Linked DNA regions of Homo sapiens: all the other regions are linked to region 1. Evidence: promoter capture Hi-C in 16 types of primary human blood cells and fetal thymus (Javierre and others, 2016). All regions are on one chromosome and are shown on one strand. The core of a region is centred on a gene start or on the middle of the fragment in contact, and the rest is flanking DNA. Distances in the headings are between cores, read along the strand shown. Region 1 holds the start of KMT2E-AS1 (KMT2E antisense RNA 1). Region 2 overlaps RINT1 (RAD50 interactor 1). Region 3 overlaps ATXN7L1 (ataxin 7 like 1). Region 4 overlaps ATXN7L1 (ataxin 7 like 1).

Evidence for each region. The method cuts DNA at HindIII sites, captures the fragments that hold promoters and counts their contacts. A CHiCAGO score of 5 or more calls a contact.
Region 2: a fragment that was not itself captured here is called in contact with the fragment with the promoter of KMT2E-AS1 in region 1 in 5 of 17 cell types (erythroblasts, neutrophils, total CD4 T cells and 2 more); the score reaches 6.4 in erythroblasts.
Region 3: a fragment that was not itself captured here is called in contact with the fragment with the promoter of KMT2E-AS1 in region 1 in 1 of 17 cell types (fetal thymus); the score reaches 5.2 in fetal thymus.
Region 4: a contact is called between a fragment that was not itself captured here and the fragment with the promoter of KMT2E-AS1 in region 1, in 1 of 17 cell types (fetal thymus). The highest score is 5.0, in fetal thymus.

Annotation. Positions count from the first base shown.
Region 1 is chr7:105,012,821-105,015,909 of GRCh38, forward strand. It overlaps KMT2E-AS1 (KMT2E antisense RNA 1), which reads right to left and starts at 1,321. Exons shown (of 1, transcript NR_024586.1): 1 at 1-1,321. KMT2E (lysine methyltransferase 2E (inactive)) reads left to right here and starts at 1,385. Exons shown (of 27, transcript NM_182931.3): 1 at 1,385-1,715. RefSeq lists enhancers at 1-304, 394-933, 725-774, 1,095-1,214, 1,475-1,704 and silencers at 925-974, 1,325-1,414. The HindIII fragment of the contact is 4,615 bases long and covers 1-2,412 here.
Region 2 is chr7:105,538,727-105,541,818 of GRCh38, forward strand. All of the region lies in intron 3 of RINT1 (RAD50 interactor 1), which reads left to right. Among named protein-coding and RNA genes, the nearest start is that of RINT1, 8.1 kb to the left of the region's middle. The HindIII fragment of the contact is 4,900 bases long and covers 1-3,092 here.
Region 3 is chr7:105,693,410-105,696,692 of GRCh38, forward strand. The region is part of intron 3 of ATXN7L1 (ataxin 7 like 1); the gene reads right to left. Among named protein-coding and RNA genes, the nearest start is that of EFCAB10, 110 kb to the left of the region's middle. RefSeq lists an enhancer at 1,899-2,662. The HindIII fragment of the contact is 1,044 bases long and covers 1,157-2,200 here.
Region 4 is chr7:105,669,897-105,673,307 of GRCh38, forward strand. All of the region lies in intron 3 of ATXN7L1 (ataxin 7 like 1), which reads right to left. Among named protein-coding and RNA genes, the nearest start is that of EFCAB10, 90 kb to the left of the region's middle. The HindIII fragment of the contact is 4,917 bases long and covers 1-3,411 here.

The sequences.
Region 1 (3,089 bases), core at 71-2,570:
GACCCAGCGCCATCTTGCCCTGACGCAGTTACAAAAGTCACGGGAGAAATCCTGTCTCCTCCTCCGCGCCAGCGCCCCAAAGTTTTGCAGAGGCCGAGCCGGGGCCCTCACCTCGCGCAGGGACAGTAGAAAATGGTCAGGGAAGAGCCTTGCGATTCCCTTCGCCACTGCTTGGGTTCCATATCGGCCGCGGCAGCAACGATCACCATCGTCACTTCTCCCTCTCTACCTTTGCAACAGCCTCCCCCTACGGCTTTGGCCCCACCCGCTGCTGCAGGATGAGGTCATCGCCAGCCAACCACGACGCGCCCGACAGGACACATCAGGCGCTGATTGGCTGCCGAGACCGCCTCTGCCTCTCCCCACTCCGCTTCCCCCAGCGCTCTGGGTCGCTGCGGGGCAAGGGGAAGACGGAAACCATTTCGGGGAAAGACCCCCAAAACAAGAGCCGGAATCGCCGTGTCATTTTAGTGGGGAAACCCTTCTTTTATTCTTTGGTCTCCCCCTTTTTTCTTCGAGATCACTGTCTGTCCCTCCCTCGTTTAATCACCGCCATATAAAGGAATTCCCACTCCCCTCCCCGCACATTGTCCCACCGGTGGGGAAATCCTTCCCCGAGGCCAAGAGAAGTATAGGAGGCAGCGACGGCAACTGCACCGACGGCAACGGCAGCTTTTTACCCCGAAGCACGGTGGCAGGGAGGCGGCGTTGACGGTGGCTGCATTTTTCCGGCTGCTTCTCCCCCCGACCTCTTCCGTTTCTTGCTCCTCCATCGAGACAGCACTAGACTCGCCAGCTCCGCTTTTATCCGGTGCCCGGAGCCTGCGCACTGGAGCCTCCTCAGCCCCTAGTGGGCGTCGAGTGACACCCCAACCGGGTTCACCCAGCGCTGGAGGCCAGACTGGGCTGGGGGAGGAGGGGGAGAGGAACGGGGAGACGGGACTGGGGTTGTTTGGGAGGGGGAGAAGGTGTATCGCTTTCGGAGGGTGACGGGAGGGAGTTCGTTCCCAAGCCCTGCTGTCCTTGTTCGTGCACCCAATACTGGCATGCCCAAGCTCACCTATATCCAGACTTGAGGGCCACTGGGGGAAAGGGGGAAAGAACCAGTCCCACCGAATACCGACACTTCCTCAAACCTTCGGTGGATTGTTGAATGCATCTGTTGTCAGAAAGACAGAGATTCCGTCCCCCTCACCGCCTCCAGTTTGCTATCTTCGAGCCTCCGCGGAGAGGCAACGGCGGGCGGCAGCCCACAAGCAAAATGGCGCCGGGCAGCTTCATCCCCTCCCCCTCTGCCCCTGCGGAGCGGGACGGGCGTACCCCGTGCACTTGCCGCCGCCGCCGCCGCCGCCGCGGCCGCCGCCGCCGCCGCCGCCATTTTCCCAGAGCGAGAGGCAGTGACACTGAGCGGGCGCAGGGGGCCGAGTCGGAGACCGTGCCGGAGTTCGGGAGCGGCAACAGAGTGGGCATAGACACTCCGAGCAGCCTCGCCGTCGTCTCTGCGTTCCTGTTGACTGCCTGGCTGCCCCCTCCCCTACTCCTCGGTTCCTGGTGAAGAGGCTGCGCGCTGCTGTTTGGGGAGGGGGTGTGTGGAGCCGGGTCCTGTGTCCGCAGTGGCTGCTGTCGGGGGGTCGCCTGTTCGCGGAGGTGCGGAGAGACTCCTTGGGGGTCGAGCACATAACGGGGTTCGGGTGTCTCGTGTGTGAACATCACAGGTTAGTGCCTGTCGTCTCCATGGGAGTTCCTGGGGCTTGCGGGGTTGGGGTACTTGTGTTTCAAGGGGGAGGGAGGTCTCTCATCTTTATCCTTAAGCTGGGGGAGCCGACGTTGACTCTCAGGTGTCTTTGCCGGCGCAAGACGTTGCTTGCTTAAATCGAATTTATTCTTTCTTCTCCCTGACCCTAGAAATGGAGCATTATGGCGGGTTTTAGGGTTGGGAAAGGGGTAACTGGCAGTTAAACCCCCTTGAGAGTGGGGGAGTTAGGGAGGGGGCGCACTCCTCATTGGCAGCGGGTTAAGGCCGCTTGAGTGAAGACGGAGGCTTGTGACTGTTAGTAGGGTTTGTGTCGAAGTGGTCCCAGGAGCTGCCAGCGCTCCCTTTTCTCAACCGCGTCTTGTTCAGGTGCTGAAAAGCCATATAGGCCCCATTTTCTTCTTCCATTTCTTGACGGGCAGTCTCTGGTATAATGTGCACATGAATACGAAGGGGGTAAGAAGAACGCCCTGGGCATCTCTCTTTGTGGGAGAGCGAGACAGCTAGCTCCTCATCCTCTCCTGGAGAGGGTAAACCCGCCCCTGAAGTGGTCACCCCAGTACCCAGCCTTCTCAGTCTCCTCCCCCACTCCTTTTGCATTACCGCCGTCCTTTACTGTGCCGGAGCCTTAGGATCTACAATATGGCTCATTTCAGAAAAGCTTATTTTGACCAAGGGATTGGCACAAATTCTATGGCAGCAGACACAGATGAGAAACAAACGGTTCACTGTGCTAAACGGGGTGGGGGTGAGAAAAAAACAATCCAGAGTGCTCTCTTCTACTGGCCTTAGTTCCGTATAGATCCGTCCTTGCTGGGCTCTGTCTTAAGAACGATACAATTTAAAGTCAAAGAGGAATCGCTAGAGTTAGCTCTAGAGTAAACCTCGTTTTGCCTATTTTGTTCCCTTTTTAGAGATGTGAATAAGGTAAGGTGTTTGGAGTTCTGGAGACCTTGGAGAGAATTAAGTGAGGTGCATTCAACTCGAGGCTGGAGACATGAATACCTATTTGGAAAATAGTCTGTTTTTTTCCTTCAATTTCTGAGATGGGGAGTAAAAACTGAAATTTCCCTCTTTTGTCCTTTACAGATTCTAAAAATGGCGGCCCCAGGCTGATGTTGTGGTAATCTAATCAGCTCGGGTCCTCCACACCCCATGCAGTGCGTTTGTCTGCAGCATATTACAGGCTTATTATGTTTACATGAAAAGACTGGGCTGTTTTTCCTTCCCCGAGCCAGTTACAAAAATGTGTTGATTTTTTACTGCAAATTACAGTGCTGTGTTTTAGCTGATTAATTTGATTCGTTTTTCCTGAAAGGCAAATAAAATGTCTCCA
Region 2 (3,092 bases), core at 403-2,902, 530 kb after region 1:
TTTAGTAGCATTGAATTCAGTCTGTTGAATAGTCTATCCCACAATCGACAAATTTATGTGCAGTCATTTTTAACCTCTTCATTCAGCAAAGGATCAGTCGAAGGCAGACCTTATACCCCAGGTTCTCTCTGCCACCTCAGTAAACTTGTGTCACTCTTATAATTTTACCCTGTGTTCGTCAACCAGTCCTATCCCTTCAGCATGTGCACATAGACAGGTCTTTTCCATAAAACCTTAACAAAGAAACAAAAAAACCCATGATCTTTTAGCAGGTATTAGTTCTTTCCTTTGATTGTCAGGCTTCAGAAAGTAACCTTTGTTATCTATCTCTACTTTTTGTCATTCATCTTTTACCCACTGTAATCAGGTTTGTTTCCCTAATGACCACAGAAACTTTTACTGAAGTTCCTTATTGAACCTTAAATTCAGCATGTCCAAAACTATACTGATCCATTTTTTAGAGGCTTGTCTGTCTTGGTTAGATAATGGCACCACTATTTGCCTGTCACCCAGACCTGAAGCCTAGGAGTCCTAGATTCCTTCTTATCATCCTCTCATCCTCTATCCCATCACCAAGTCATCTGAGTTCAGCCTCAACATCTCTGGTATCCATCCCATCTTTCCCACTCTTTTTTTTTTTTTTTTTTTTTTGAGTTGGAGTTTCACTCTTGTTGCCCAGGCTGGAGTGCAATGGCACAATCTTGGCTCACTGCAACCTCCACCTCCTGGGTTCGAGTGATTCTCCCGCCTCAGGCTCCCAAGTAGCTGGGATTATAGGCATGTGCCACCACGCTCGGCTAATTTTGTATTTTTGGTAGAGATGGGGTTTCTCCATGTTGGTCAGGTTGGTCTCAAACTCCCAACCTCAGGTGATCTGCCCGAAAGTGGATCTTGGCCTTCCAAAGTGCTGGGATTACAGGCGTGAGTCACTGCTCCCGGCCCATCTTTCCCACTCTTGCTGATACCATGTTAGTTTAGGCAGATTGGGAGCTTTGTAGAAATGCAGAATCTCAGTCTTACTTCAGACTTACTGTATCAGAATCTGTATTACAACAAGATCTTTAGGTGATTAATGTGCCCATTCATTAAATATAGCCTGTCTATTTTATTGCATTAATCCCACTGTTGAAATTATTTGCTTACAACACTCTTATATACCAAAGTGACCTGAAGGACGGATGCTGTGTCTTGTTTATCTGCATATTTCTAGCGCAGTGCCTGGTACAGAATAAGTATCTAATCACTGTTGATTGAAATTATTCTATAATGTTCTTTGTATTTTGCTGATGACTAATATTTGTATATGTTTTCCCACATACTATAAGAAAAATTCACTTAATAAATGCCATTTTCTTTTTTTTTTTTTTTTTGAGATGGAGTCTTCCTCTGTCGCCCAGGCTGGAGTGTGGTGGTGTGATCTCAGCTCACTGCTACCTCTGCCTTCCGGGTTTCAAGTGATTCTCCTGCCTCAGCCTCCTGAATAGCTGGGATTACAGGCATGCGCCACCATCCTCAGCTCATTTTTGTATTTGTATTTATTTTATTTTATTTTTTGAGACAGAGTCTCACTCTGTCGCCCAGGCTGGAGTGCAGTGGAGCGATCTCAGCTCACTGTAACCTCCGCCTCCTGGTTTCACCAATTCTCCTGCCTCAGCCTCTTGAGTAGCTGGGATTACAGGCTCATACTACCACACCCGGCTAGTTTTTGTATTTTTATTAGAGACGGGGTTTCACCATGTTGGCAAGTGTGGTCTCAAACTCCTTACCTCAAGTGATCCACCAGCTTCTGCCTCCCAAAGTGCTAGGATTACAGGCATGAGACACTGTGCCCGGCTGAATTTTTGTATTTTTAGTAGAGACAGGGTTTCACCATGTTGGCTAGGCTGGTCTCGAACTCCTGACCTCCAGTGACCTGCCCTCCTTGGCCTCCCAAAGTGCTGGGATTACAGGTGTGAGCCACTGCACCTGGCCACTAAATGCCCTTTCTAAAGGCATTGCCTGGATATCATCTCATCAAGTCAGTGCTTCTTAGCCTGGCCTTAATTCAGAATCACCTGGGGTATGTTGGCAAAATATAGATGCTCAGCCTGTTAGAATGAGATCTTTGTTTCCTTTTTTTTTTTTTTTTTGATATGGAGTCTCGCTCTGTCACCCAGGCTAGATGGCAGTGGCGCAGTCTCGGCCCACTGCAACCTCTGCCTCCCGGGTTTAAGAAATTCTCTGCCTCAGCCTCCCAAAGTGCTGGGATTACAGGTATGTGCCACCATGCTCAGCTAATTTTTTTGTATTTTTTAGTAGAGACAAGATTTTGCCATCTTGGCCAGGCTGGTCTTGAACTCCTGACCTTGTGATCCACCCACCTTGGCCTCCCAAAGTGCTGGGATTACAGGTGTGAGTCACCGCACCCAGCTTGCATTTTTTTTTTTCTTCTTTGAGGAGTCTTGCTCTGTCACCCAGGCTGGATGGAGTGCGGTGGTGCAGTCTCAGCTCACTGCAACCTCCTCCCGGTTCAAGTGATTCTTGCCTTGGCCTCTCTAGAGCTGGGATTACAAGGTGTGTGCCACCAAACCTGGCTAGTTTTTGTATTTTTAGTAGAGATGGGGTTTCATCATGTTGGCCAGGCTGGTCTTGAACTCCTGACCTCAAATGATCCGCCTGTCTTGGCCTCCCAAACTGCTGGGATTACAGGTGTGAGCCACCGTGCCCGGCCCTTCCTTTGCTTTGAAGGAAAATATTTAGCAGGTAGAGCATGTATTAATAAGTTTTCTCGGCCTGGCACGGTGGCTTATGCCTGTAATCCCAGCACTCTGGGAGGCTGGGGTGGGCGGATCATGAGGTCAGGAGTTCGAGATCAGCCTGACCAACGTGGTGAAACCCCGTCTCTACTAAAAATACAAAAATTAGCCGAGCGTGATGGCACGTGTCTATAATTCCTGCTATTTAGGAGGCTGAGGCAGGAGAATCACTTGACCCCGGGAGGTGGAGGTTGCAGTGAGCTGAGATCACGCCACTGCACTCCAGCCTGGGTGACAGAACGAAACTCTGTCTCAAAAAAATAAAATAAGTTTTCTCTAGCTGGATCCTCTGCTGAG
Region 3 (3,283 bases), core at 429-2,928, 680 kb after region 1:
CTGAACTCCTGGCCTCAGGCAGTCCTCCCGCTTGGGCCTCCAAAGTGCTGGGGTTACAGGCTTGAGCTACTGTGTCTGACCGAGTGAGAAATTTTAAATTGCTGGGTGGACTTAAATCTAATGCCCCATCCATCCATCCATCCATCCATCCATCCATCCATCCATCCATCCATCTAATTTGAAGAATAAAATGTCACCCCCTTCCCACTCCACAGGTTTTGGGGAAAGTAATGAGTAAGTAGAAACAGGCTGTTTGGAAAAGCCACTGTGACTGTGGGCCAGCTTCACCTTTGTTTTGGAGAGCAAAGGTTGCTCTTCTGGTTACGGGGCCACCAGCGCCATGGTGGTGAACAGGAACCCACATAGTGGCTTTCTCTTTCCCCTCAAAGTAACCCACATTTTATTACCAACTATATATAGAAATTGTTTCACTGGGATCTGAAATGGAGCCACCCTGGAGTGAAATGCAGCAGTTGCCTGATACATCACAGGAGAAGAGCAAAGGCAACTTAGCACATCCAAGACCAAGGAAGGAGCAGGGGAGGAAGAAGTCGGGAGCAAGAAGTCTGGGGTGGGGAAAGGAGGAGGGTGGAAGGGATGCAGCAAGAGAGAAGTTTCAGGTCCTGAGGGAGAAGTGAGCCTTTTTTTTTTTTTTTAAGGCAGAGTCTCGCTCTGTTGCCTAGGCTGGAGTGCAGTGGTGCCATCTTGGCTCACTGCAACCTCCGCCTCCCGGGTTCAAGCAATTCTCCTGCCTCAGCCTCCCCAGTATCTGGGTCTACAGGCACATGCCACTGCACCTGGCTAATTTTTATATTTTTAGTAGAGATGGTTTCACCATGTTGGCCAGGCTGGTCTCGATCTCCTGATCTCAGGCAATCCACCTGCCTTGGCCTCCCAAAGTGCTGGGAGTACAGGTGTGAGCCACTGCACCTGGCTGAGAAGTGAGTCTTCAATCAGCCCTGTCCTTGGGGTCAGCAACTGTTAAAGTAGCCCCAGGATTTCTGTGGGTTAAAACCCCACAGTTTATGTCTCTTTCATGCACATTACATTATTTGATCCTGTGAGGTGGGAAGGGCGGCTATTATTACCCCCATTATGAAGGAGGGAAACAGGGTTCAGAGAAACCTGTGACTTTCCCAAGTTACACACCCAGGAAAGCTTTCTGATGTCCAATCCTGGGTCTCAGCCTCATGGCCGATAATGTACGCTGGTGTGCAGCTTCATTATTCACAAAGCAGCTTAAAAGGGGCAGACTTTATTATTCCCATTTTCACAGACAAGTAAACTGGGATTTGGAGAGGCTATGTGATTTGGCCAGGGCCACACTGCAAACCACAAACAGCCCTAGGTCTTCCAACTCCTGGCCCGGCCCTCCTTGCTTCCCTCTATGGCGCTTCCAGAGAAAACAATGATAAAACTAAAAAGGCCAATGGAGTTGTTTGACTCTAAAAGCACAACCTCAGCCAGGCACGGTGGCTCACACCTGTAATCCCAGCACTTTGGAAGGCTGAGGCGGTGGATTGCCTGAGGTCAGGAGTTCGAAACCAGCCCAGCCAACATGCTGAAACCTGTCTCTCCAAAAAATACAAAAATTAGTTGGGCGTGGTGGCCGGTGCCTGTAGTCCCAGCTACTCAGGAGGCTGAGGCAGGAGAATTGCTTGAATCTGGGAGGCGGAGGTTGCAGTGAGCCGAGATCACACCATTGCATCTCTACTAAAAATACAAAAATTAGCCGGGCGTGGTGGCCGGTGCCTGTAGTCCCAGCTACTCGGGAGGCTGAGGCAGGAGAATTGCTTGAATCCAGGAGGCAGAGGTTGCAGTGAGCCGAGATCACACCACTGCGCTCCAGCCTGGGTGACAGAGCAAGACTCCGTCTCAAAATAAATAAACATTAAATAAAATAAAAGCACAACATCGCCCTCAATTTTCTCAACATTCCCTGTCTTCATGGCTTTTCTAGTGTTTCATAGTGAATGTGCCTAACACAGAAGGGTTCCTTTCCACAGTGTGGGGGGAGCTTCGGACATCTGCACTCCAGAGCTACTATTTCAATGGAAAACAATCGTCTTGATCCAGTTTGCACCCCATCCTTTGATTTGATCAGTTCACCTAAATGCCAACCCCTGGTTCCTTACCAAATACTAGTCTAAGTTGCAGCGAAGTGGAATGTCCCAGCAGGCCTGACAGCTGTACATTATGAAGCTTGTATATCCACGGTGCACCACTGCACATGTAGAGGGGATCTAGCTTAGCACATGGTTTGGGGGATCGCTTCTCTAAAAGGTGTTTCAAAGTTAGGCCTTTGCTGAGTTCTTTGCAACAGAGGTCACTGAAAATATTGGACCAAATGTAGGTTTCCACTGTCATGTTCCTTTGCCCATGCCAAATGGACACACGCACAGCTTAATCTGGCCTGATACTACTTTTATGTGATACAGGCTGAGCAGGTTCACTGCAGGCGTTGGGCATTTGCTCTGAGGGACAGGGTGGTGGGTTACTGCAGATGGCCAGGAGGTTTGCAGGTAGGGATGAATAGAGGTGTTTGTCAGGAAGTGAAGGCTTGGGGGGCCAAGATCAAAGATATTGAATGTAGAATGCAGAGGGGAGCCTGTCAGGAGCTGATGGTTAGGAAGTTACAGAACGTTCTGCCACGCCCTTATAAATCTGCCTGTCACACTTCTTTCTCCCTGAAAGTACAACACAAGAAAACATACACCCGAAGGTCAGGGAAGTTGGGTGTCAAGGTGGACTTCACGTTGACTGTTATGAAGGTCATGAAGACTAATGAAATCTATGTGCTCCTGTTGACTGGAAATGCTCTGCAGCTTGGCGGGAGGTATATGTAGTGCTTCCCACTGCTAGTGAATACTCACTCTCAAGGGGGTTTCTTCAGGTGGTTTTGGTAACCAGAGGACATTTGCATCCATGCTGCCTGAAAGAATATGGGTGCTAGGTGAATCAGAACAGTCTTGGCACGGAAACTCGTTTGCTTGCAAGACATAAAGTGAGGAGAATATTTCCACGTAACATGTGACTTCTTTGATCATAGAGCCCCACCCATCCACCCCCACTTTTTTTAAGCCAAAAAAGAAGGACCCATGATTTGACAAGCATTGGCATAATAAGGAAAGATAGGGTAGGCTATTTAAAATCAGAACTTCTGAAAGTCCATGAGGCCTAGCCACTGAACTTGTAATATCACATTAAAATGCGCTAATGGAGAGATGTGGAATATTAGCAGGAATCTGTTGTAATTAGTACTGGCATGCTTAACCAAAGCAGT
Region 4 (3,411 bases), core at 904-3,403, 660 kb after region 1:
CAACAAGAGCTAAACTCCATCTCAAAAAAAAAAAAAAAAAAAAATTAAAGTGGAGGGACCAATAGAGTCAGTGGTCAGGGATTCACTCTGGAGGTGAGCTGTAGCTAGGCTTTTGAAAATGGGTAGAACTGATGTCCCAGGTAGGGCAGAGTGAGTGGATTTTACAAAAAGACCTATTCAATCTTTGTTTCTCTAGTCTATGAAGACCTGCCTGTAGTGGACTTACACAGTTTTGCGTTGGTGAGGAGGCGGGTTAGGTTAGTGATAGAAGAAGGCAGGGTCTTATCTTTTGCAAAAAGACGCTGCTGTGCAGGTGAGGTTTCTCTGAGTGAAGCTCTCCTGCTGTACATTACAATCATTCAGATACAAGCCTTCACCCACTTGAGGCTCAATCATGTCTTTCTATGTTTTGATTAAGGGACTGCCTAAGGTAGATCCCTATAGTTATTCTAATTCCATTTGCCCTGCCCAGAAAGAATTTGTAGTACATGATATCCCTCATTGTTAAAATATTTAATACTTAAGCAATTTTAGAGAAAAAGAGCACTTTCCTCTAAATTTTCTTAGTCTTCGTTAATGCATATAGCTTTATTAAGAAAACTGCAATCAATGGATATTTTGGACTATTCTTTGTCAGCTAACATTCTACATATACGTATCAAATTCCCACAAACTTGCTATTTTAAACTGTTAGGTAATATTCAATCATTAACATGGCGCAGATTATTTAGCTACTCTCTTGCTGTCTACCTACTATTTATCTTTAAAAAAAAAAAAACTGATTTGGCCGGGCGTGGTGGCTGACATCTGTAATCCCAGCACTTTGGGAGGCCAAGGTGGGTGGATCACAAGGTCAAGAGATTGAGACCACCCTAGCCAACATGGTGAAACCCCATCTCTACTAAAAATACAAAAATTAGCCGGGTGTAGCCGGGCGCGGTGGCTCACGCCTGTAATCCCAGCACTTTGGGAGGCCGAGGCGGATGGATCACGAGGTCAGGAGATCGAGACCATCCTGGCTAACACGGTGAAACCCTGTCTCTACTAAAAATACAAAAAATTAGCCCGGCGAGGTGGCGGGCGCCTGTTAGTCCCAGCTACTCGGGAGGCTGAGGCAGGAGAATGGCGTGAACCCGGGAGGCAGAGCTTGCAGTGAGCCAAGATGGCGCCACTGCATTCCAGCCTGGGCGACAGCGAGACTACGTCTCAAAAAAAAAAAAAAAAAAAAAAAAAAAAATTAGCCGGGTGTGGTGGCGGGTGCCTGTAATCTCAGCTACTCAGGAGGCTGCGGCAGGAGAATCACTTGAACCCGGGAGGCGGAGGTTGCAGTGAGCCTGGATTACACCACTGCACTCCAGCCTGACAACAGAGTGAGACTCCGTCTCAAAAAAAAAAAAAAAATTTATTTAAAAAGTGATTCAGAATTATTTCCTTGAGGTATAATTCCCAAAGTGAAAGGCTGCAGCTTTATAGCTCTTGCTACACATTTCTTTCCAGACCGTGTAACAGAAAGACCAAACCAATCTACTGTGCTAATATTGAATATAAGCACCACTCACCTACTTTAGGAAAAACAGAAAATCACTATCAGAACACCCGTGCAGAATTAAGTATTCAATACATCAATAACAACCTCAGTGAATGATCTTCAGCCAGCAACCTCTGCTCTCACCCGTTCTGTCCTTTGATCAATAGTAATAATAGTTTTAAGATTTTTCAGGTGGGTACAGTGGCTCATGCCTGTAATTCCCGCACTTTGGGAGGCTGAGGCGGGTGGATTGCTGGAGCTCAGGAGTTCAAAACTAGCTGGGTAACATGGTGAAACCCTGCTTCTACAAAAAATTAAAAACAATCAGCCAGGTGTGTGCCTTTAGTCCCAGCTACTTAGGAGGCTGAGGTGGGAGGATTGCTTGAGCCTGGGAGGTCAAGGCTGCAGTGAGCTGAGATTGTTCCACTGCACTCCAGCCTGAATGACAGAGTGAGACCCTGTCTCAAAAAAAAAAAAAAAAAAAAAAAAAAGAATTTTTTTTTCTTATGTGCCAGGCACTCTTCTAAACACTTTGATTTACCTTATAGCATTTCATTCTTACAATACCTTAAGAGAGGCACGGCCGGGCGTGGTGGCTCACGCTTGTAATTCCAGCACTTTGGGAGGCCCAGGTGGGTGGAACACGAGGTCAGGAGTTCGAGACTAGCCTGACCAACATGGTAAAACCCGGTCTCTACTAAAAATACAGAAATTAGCTGGGTGTGATGGCAGGCGCTTGTAATCCCAGGTACTCGGGAGGCTGAGGCAGGAGAATCACTTGAACCCTGGAAGCGGAGGCTGCAGTGAGCCGAGATCATGCCACTGCACTCCAGTCTCGGCGACAGAGTGAGACTCCGTCCCCTGCCCCCCCCAAAAAAGAGAGGCACTACTAGTTTCTCTTTTCTACAGGTAAGTTTGATTAACAAAGCTGTAATCAATGGATATTTTGGACTATTCCTTGTCAACTAACATTATTCTGCATATACATATCAAATTCCCACATACTTGCCATTTTAAACTGTTAGGTAATATTCAATCATTAATGTGCTGTAGATTATTTAGCTATTCTCGTACTGTCGACCTACTATTTGTCTTTTAAAAAACTGATTTAAAAAGTGATTTAGAATTATTTCCTTGAGGTATAATTCCTGAGGCTCAGAGATACAATGAGTTGCTTAAGGTCACAGAGCTAGAAAACATCAGATCTGGGGATGTTTTCAGAGCCCCTGTCTTAACTCTGGGCTCTACCACCTTGGAATCCTGGAAGATTCTGCTACAGATAGGAGGAATCTGAAAGAGCCAGCGGGACCTCTCCTTTCCCACTGTCTGTGGGCATTTCAGCAGGGCACCTGACTCCCCTAGGGAGAGGAAGAAACACTTTTTAGGTGTTAGGCAGCTGGCAGGTACCAGTCAGCAGCTCATACCATTGCCTAAGACCTCAATCACAAAGAGTTGGGGGGCCCCAGTACCAAAGAAATGAAAAGCCAAATCCTTTTACTTTTGTGCATTTCCACCACAGGAAGTCCAGGCCAAGGCCTCAGCAGCTGACTGTTTCAAGACCACCTGCTTCCCCACAGCCTCCTTAAACATCCAGGTGCAACTCCAGGGGCAGTCCTGGAGATCAGCCAAGCAGGGAGCTTGCAGACACCAGCTGTCAGCATCCCAAAAATCTGATAGGCGCGGGGAACCCTGGTGTCTCCAGTTTGCTCCCCTCACTCTCTGAAGATAAAATCCATCAGGTTCTCAGGCAATCCCATTTCAGTAAAAATTCAGTGTTCCCTTCCCCATACGCTTATTCATGGAGATATTTTCATACTTGCAGCATCAGTGTCCTGTATTTAAAACCTTAGCACAGATGCCTCATGAATGGCTGAGCCGGCTGC